Regions from separate parts of the Homo sapiens genome. Here region 1 is linked to region 2. Evidence: promoter capture Hi-C in human tissues and cell types (Jung and others, 2019). All regions are on one chromosome and are shown on one strand. Each heading gives the region's core, a stretch centred on a gene start or on the middle of the fragment in contact. The rest is flanking DNA. Distances are from core to core; before and after follow the strand shown.

The links. The method cuts DNA at HindIII sites, captures the fragments that hold promoters and counts their contacts. A contact is called where the count stands out against the background at its distance.
Region 1: a fragment that was not itself captured here is called in contact with the fragment with the promoter of LCA5L in region 2 in 2 of the 25 tissues and cell types used here (adrenal gland and aorta).

What each region holds. Positions count from the first base shown.
Region 1 is chr21:39,402,750-39,406,159 of GRCh38, reverse strand. It overlaps GET1-SH3BGR (GET1-SH3BGR readthrough), which reads right to left. Exons shown (of 14, transcript NR_146618.2): 5 at 102-246. It overlaps LCA5L (lebercilin LCA5 like), which reads left to right. Exons shown (of 11, transcript NM_152505.4): 11 at 1-432. The coding sequence ends at 278. It also overlaps a transcript of GET1 not described here. Among named protein-coding and RNA genes, the nearest start is that of GET1-SH3BGR, 24 kb to the right of the region's middle. The HindIII fragment of the contact is 5,337 bases long and covers 1-3,410 here.
Region 2 is chr21:39,443,829-39,447,210 of GRCh38, reverse strand. LCA5L (lebercilin LCA5 like) reads left to right here and starts at 1,433. Exons shown (of 11, transcript NM_152505.4): 1 at 1,433-1,486; 2 at 3,010-3,076. All of the region lies in intron 8 of GET1-SH3BGR (GET1-SH3BGR readthrough), which reads right to left. MIR6508 (microRNA 6508) reads right to left here and starts at 201; the gene lies at 142-201. It also overlaps a transcript of SH3BGR not described here. RefSeq lists a silencer at 1,263-1,522. The HindIII fragment of the contact is 9,266 bases long and covers 1-3,382 here.

The DNA of each region.
Region 1 (3,410 bases), core at 844-3,343, 42 kb after region 2:
GTAAGTCTTCCAGAATAAAAGTGAAGGATACAACTTTCAGAGATAAGAAAAGCAGTCTCATGGAAGAACTCTTTGGATCAGGCTATGTCTTGAAAACTGACCAATCAAGTCCTGGTGTTGCAAAAGGCTCAGAGGAGCCTTTGCAAAGTAAGGAGTCGCATCCCCTGCCTCCCAGTCAGGCCTCCACCAGCCATGCTTTCGGAGACTCTAAAGTAACTGTGGTAAATTCTATTAAGCCATCGTCACCTACAGAAGGAAAAAGAAAAATAATTATTTAAATATAATCAATATCCTAATGCATTCTGGTTTGATATAATGCTGCTTATGTGCCTTGCATCTTATTTTTGAAATGTGTGAGAGAGGGAGTGTATGTATGTGTGTGTTTTAGTACTTAATTGACTTTCGATAATTAAATTTTTGTTTGATTGCTAATCTAGTAAAAAATCTATTTTATATTAGCCAATGATAACACTTCAAATACAAATTTACATCTTTACAACTGAAACATCCATTATCTTCTGGAAGACTGGTTTACTATATGGTTTTAGTATTCTGTGGGACTCCATAGCTAGTAACTCTTAAGTTAGTCAACCCAAGACATGCATCTCCTACACAACAAAATTTATCAGCAATAGAGTTGAATTGTAACTTAAAAACATGGAAGCAGGCCAGATGCAGTGGTTCTTGCCTGTAATCCCAGCATTTTAGGAGGCCAAGGTGGGAGGATCACTTGAGTCCAGGAGTTTAAGACCAGCCTGGCCAACATGGTACAACCCCGTCTCTACAAAAATTATAAGAATTAGCCAGGTGTGGTGGTGTGTGCCTGTAGTCCCAGCTACTTGGGAGGCTGAGGTCAAAGAATCACTTGTGCCCAGGTCGAGGCTTCAGTGAGCATGATCGTGCCACTGCACTCTAGCTTGGGCAATCGGAGTGAGACCGTGTCTCAAAAAATAAAAACAAAATGTGGCAGCAGCTTTGAAAGGGAACAATATGATCAAAAGACTCTTTTTACTAAAAAAAAAAAATAGGCTGGGTGCCATGGCTCACGCCAGTAATCCCAACACTTTGGGAGACCGAGGTAGGTGGATCACCTGAGGTTAGGAGTTTGAGACCAGCCTGGCCAACATGGTGAAACCCTGTCTCTACTAAAAATACAAAAAATCAGCTGGGTGTGGTGGCACATGCCTGTAATGGCAGCTACCCAGGAGGCTGAGGCAGGAGAATCGCTGGAACCCCAGGAGGCAGAGGCTGCAGTGAACCAAAATAACACCACTGCACCCTAGCCTGGGTGACAGAGCGAGACTCCATCTCAAAAAAAAAAAAAAATACATATATGTATGTATGTGTGTATATATATAGTGATTACCAAGCTTAGTTTCATGAAAATCTTTTTTTTTTTTTTTTTTTTTGACAGTGTCTCAGTGTGTCACCCAGGCTGGAGTGCAGTGATAACAATCTTGGCTCACTGCAACCTCCGCCCTGCCGGGGTTCAAGCGATTCTCGTGTCTCAGCCTACAGAGTAGCTGGGATTACAGGCATGCACCACCACACCCAGCTAATTTTTCTATTTTTATTAGAGACTAAAAATGGTTTTGCCATGTTAGCCAGGCTGGTCTTGAACTCCTGACCTCAGGTGATCTGCCCACCTCAGCCTCCCAAAGTGCTGGGAATGACAGGCGTGAGCCACCGTGCCCAGCCATGAAAATCATTTTTGAGTTTCTCTTATTCAGCTAACCTGGGTATCCAATGTCCTGCCTTTGTGGGTGATGCTTTCCTTGTGTACACCTGAGATCCAGTATCATTTATTGAGATTTGTTGCATACCTGTATGTTGACCATTTTTCTGTTAACCTTGTTCTAAAAACCATAAAACAGTACCATGGCCCTGCTGGTGTTTATTCGAGCTAGCTGCTCAGTCCTAACTAATATATTTACTAAACTTAGGATATTTTAAATTAGGACTGTAAAAAGGAGGCTATACTCCCAGCCTCACTTTATTTAGCTTACTTCATTTAGTTATAAGGGCAACTTGTTTATAATCTAGACCATACTATTTCCTTTCCAATGATGTTTATGTGTTGGTGTGTAATATTAACTGTAATGGCAGCTACCCGGAAGGCTGAGGCAGGAGAATCGCTTGAACCTGGGAGGAGGTTGCAGTGAGCCAGGATCGTGCCACTGCACTCCAGCCTGGGCGAAGGAGCAAGACCCTGTCTCAAAAAATATAAAAATAAAAATAGAGCCGGGCGCAGTGGCTCACGCCTGTAATCCCAACACTTTGGGAGGCTGAGGCGGGCGATCACCTGAGGTCGGGAGTTCGAGACCAGCCTGACCAATTTGGTGAAACCCCGTCTCTACTAAAAATACAAAAATTAGCCATGCGTGGTGGCCAGCATCTGTAGTCCCAGCTACACAGGAGGCTGAGGCAGGAGAATTGCTTGAACCTGGGAGGCAGAGGTTGCAGTGAGCCAAGATCCCGCCACTGCACTCTAGCCTGGGCGACAGAGTGAGACTCCATCTCAAAAAAAAAATAAAAATAAAAATAGTAGACCGGGAGCGGTGGCTCACCCCAGCACTTTGGGAGGCCGAGGCGGGCGGATCATGAAGTCAGATCGAGACCATCCTGGCTAACACGGTGAACCCCGTCTCTACTAAAAATAACAAAAAATTAGCCGGGCGTGGTGGCGGCGCCTTTAGTCCCAGCTACTGGAGAGGCTGAGGCGGGAGAATGGCGTGAACCCGGGAGGCGGAGCTTGCAGTGAGCCGAGATCGCACCACTGCACTCCAGCCTGGGCAACAGAGCGAGACTCCGTGTCAAACTAATTAATTAAAAAATAATAAAACCAAAGATGAGATAAATACTACAATTGGCATATGCTTTGATCGTTTATGAAAAGCAAGGTGGAATAACATAGAAAAGAAGAGGACGGAAGGAGTAAGGGAGGCAGGGAGGGAGAGCTCTCACAGGCTCATAAGGGGAAATACGCAAATTAAGTGAGATGACATAGTGGCCTCAATTCCGGAGAAATGTATTAAAAGGACTCCTGGAAATGGTATGCTGAGTAACATGACAGTGTCTACTCCAGCTTCATAGCAGACAGAGGATTTTCCAAGGGATCTTTTCTTATGCCCACCCACAATGAAAGCACACATCGTGATATTAAATCAGAGCTATATTTAGAAGTGTAGAGAACTAATTTAATAAAAATACAATCTAAGCCTGTTGTTGTCTAGTCATCTTAACTGTATGAATAAAAAAGTTAGAGGGTAACAGATTAACATGCTAACTTTTTATCTCTGAGTATTATGAGATTGGGGCCAATTTTTAATTTACTTTTAGTGTTTTCTACTCTGGCTTTCTTTCGCATGTTTGCTATGATGAACATAACTTTACGATCATGGAAAAAAGAT
Region 2 (3,382 bases), core at 184-2,683:
CCAAGCATCAGCCCATCTTTCCATAATGTCAAGTCTAGAGTGACATTTGTCTAATGTTTGCCTACCTGGAGATGTTGCCCCGCCCACCACCACCAGCAAAAACAACCGGCACCCATCTTATACGGATAATTCCCTACCTAAGGAGTTCTAGAAATGCATGGCCCACCAAAACTCAGGGTGGGTCATGCATTTCTAGAGGAAGAAATGGTGATATGGAGAGAAAGCTTGTCCTAACCCACTTCTACCAAAGTAGGATTAAAGTCAATTTGAAAAAAAACACCCGTTTCTCCTTTTATATAAAAACCAAATGCAGAAACTATAGAGAAATGTAATAAGCTTGACTCTACACAAATACCAAAATACACTGTAAACAAAATTAAAGGTAACTGACAAATTGAGGAAATATTTGCAACGTATATCACAAGCCAAGTTTTCAAGCATCAAAAGTCCTTACAAAACCCATTTTTACAAAGATGAATGTCAAGTTTTAAAATGGACAAAAGACAGGAAAATGCAAATCACACAATAAGGACAAATGGCACTCAAGATATGGGAAAAAGTCTATTCTTCCTACTAAAAAGGAAGTGAATACAATTAAAGATGCCAATTTTTGACAATAAAATGGGCAAAAAAATTTTAAGAAAAAAGAGAATTTCCAATGCGGGCCAAGTATCGGGACACTTACTGGAAGGCAGTTTCCCTCTACCTTTAGAAAGCCTCAAAGTGAGCATATGCTTTGGCCCTGCAACCTCGCTTGTAGGAATTTATCCTAAGGAAACAGTCAGGGGTGACCTCAAAGATTCATCTGCAAGGATATTCAACATGGCTTTGATGCAGGAAAAAAAGTAAATAAATAAAAGGAAACAATGTAAGTCTTCCTAAATTATGCCAAATTCCTATGCTGTCATTAAAAAACATCTATAACTCCATCATCTAGGTGATTTTGACTTTTGCTTTGGACTTGCCTGTACATTTCTAAATTCTCTATGCCAAACATGCATTGTTTTGTCATCAGATTTTGTTTTACAAAAAAAAAAAAAAAATCGTCTTTATGACAAGGGGTTAATAGGGGAACTGTGCTTCCCAGGAATTGACCAGGCGTCTACACCCACCTACTGACTCAAGTTACCTAAGACTGACAGAGCCTTAAGAGGTCAGGAGAGCGCCAGAGCGCGTGACAGGCTCCCTCGTCTCGGTGCGGCCACGCGGGAAGGCAGGGTCCCGGGCGCCGAACAGGGACGGCAGGAGGATCGTTTACAGACGTCTACACAAGAAACTCACTTCCCGTCACCGAAGACAAACGCGAGGCCACACTGACCTCCAGGCCCAAGACGCCCCTCCCCGCCGCGGCTCCTGCTGCCCGAGTGCGCATGCGCGCGCCCAGCCCCCGCAGGCCGGCGCTTCCCAGGAGGCCCCGCGCGCGGGTTTCCATGGGGACGCGCCGGCGCTGCGGCGTTGGCGCAGTCGTGGGAACAGCGCGGAGCAGGTAACGGCCCCGCTGCTGCCGTCGTCCCCCTCAGCCGGTTACCCTGTTACAGCCCCAGCTCTGGGCCCTTCCGGACCCTCCTGCTACGCTCTTTCTGGGCTTCCAGTATCGCCGGTCACTCAGTCCTCGCCCCTGCCTGCCTCGCTGGCGCCCCGCCGTTTCCTCCTCGCGGCACAGTTTGCCAAGGAACAGCTACCCCGGCTCGGCAGTGACCGGGCGCCCCGGCGACACACGTACTCTCAGGCCCGCTGGGCAGGGGGACGGCCTGGGCCGAGGTGACCTAGCGCTCCCGGGGCCGCGCCTGGGTCTGGCGAGGGGGCGGAGGCCGATCTCACCGCCGCCCCACCGAGGGAACTTTGGGGTTTTTCTATCTGAATCTTCTATCTGACCTCCGATTTTGCCTCTGCTTACTTGCTGTTTTGCTTTGGATTAGTTTTTCTTTCTAACCTTAGCGCTGGCATCTCCCTATCTCGTAGGAATCTAAATCTTTTGAAATGTCTTCTCTGTCTGTGTTTGTCCCCCACTCACCCAGCCTCGGGGCTCTTTATCCACACCCTCCCCTCAGCGTGTTAACGTTTCGTTGCCACACTTAAGCCAACGGTTAACTTTTTTCAGAGACCAGTTTTCACGGCTGAATGTGAGCTTGAGCCTTTTTTCTGTCTACACTCAATCCCTAGATGAACTCATCCAGTCGCCTGTACTCAGAGCCTATCTGAATTCCAGTGAGCCCCAAGTGTGCATTCCCAGCCCTCGCCCCTCCCCTGAACACCAGATCCCTGCATTTAGCTGCCTGCCACATCCCTACTTGGATGTCTACGGCATCTCAAACACAGCTCGTCCAAGATAGCGCTCAATAATTCCCCAAGCCAAGCCTGTCCTCCCACAATCTTAATCCATCATAGTTGCTGGAAATTCCATCCTCCAGTTGCCCGAGTCTTGCATCCTGTTTGAGTCCTGTTTTTCTCTTCCTCACCTTCAGTCTGTCAGCACTGCCTTCAAAATGCACCCAGAATAGATTCACAATTCTACCATTTCTCTCAACCGCCACTGTCACCACCTTGGTCCAGGCCCCCATCATCTGGTGCGTGGATTATTTTACTTGCTTCCTAATTGGTTTCCCTGAGTCTGCCCCTCCCCCACTTGAGCATGACAGTCTTAATGGTATTTCCCCGTTCTCTGTTATTTCGTATGAGTAAGTTTTTTAAAGGATTATATAAATTACAATTTCCTTATATAAATTACAACTTCCATAGGTAAAAGTGCAGTATTTTCAGTATGTATTTTGCAAATTGCAACTTTTAAACCGGGTCAGCAAGGCCATATAAGCATCCTGCTAACAAGCTAAAAATGTAAAGACACCCCTTAGCTTTGTTAGGTATAAATATGACAGTGCCCCTGGAACAGAACTATGGCAAGAGCTTTACAAGGGACTGTCCTGAAGAACAAAAGAACCCAGAGCCTTCTTCCCAGCGCAAAGACAGGAATCATGTAGGAGTTTAAGCTCTTCCTTTTTTATTTTTTAGAGAAGCACCAAAAGAGGCAAACTGAGATGCAGACAAATGATCATCCGTATGCTGATCATTTTGAATAGTAAGTACCTGGGTGCTGATACCGCGATCAATGTGACAGGTCCCTGCCCTCAAGGAGCTAAGGCCCCTAGCCAATCTCTCTTTTTTTGTTGTTTTTTTTTTTTTTAAGACAGAGCCTTACTCTGTCGGCCAGGCTGGAGTGCAGTGGCAAGATCTCGGCTCACTGCAACCTCCATCTCTGGGCTCAAGCAATTCTCCTGCCTCGGCCTGAGTAGCTGGGATTACAGGTGTACGCCACCATGCCCAGCTAATTTTTGTATTTTTAGTAGAGATGGGGTTTCACCATGTTGGCCAGGCTGGTCTCAAA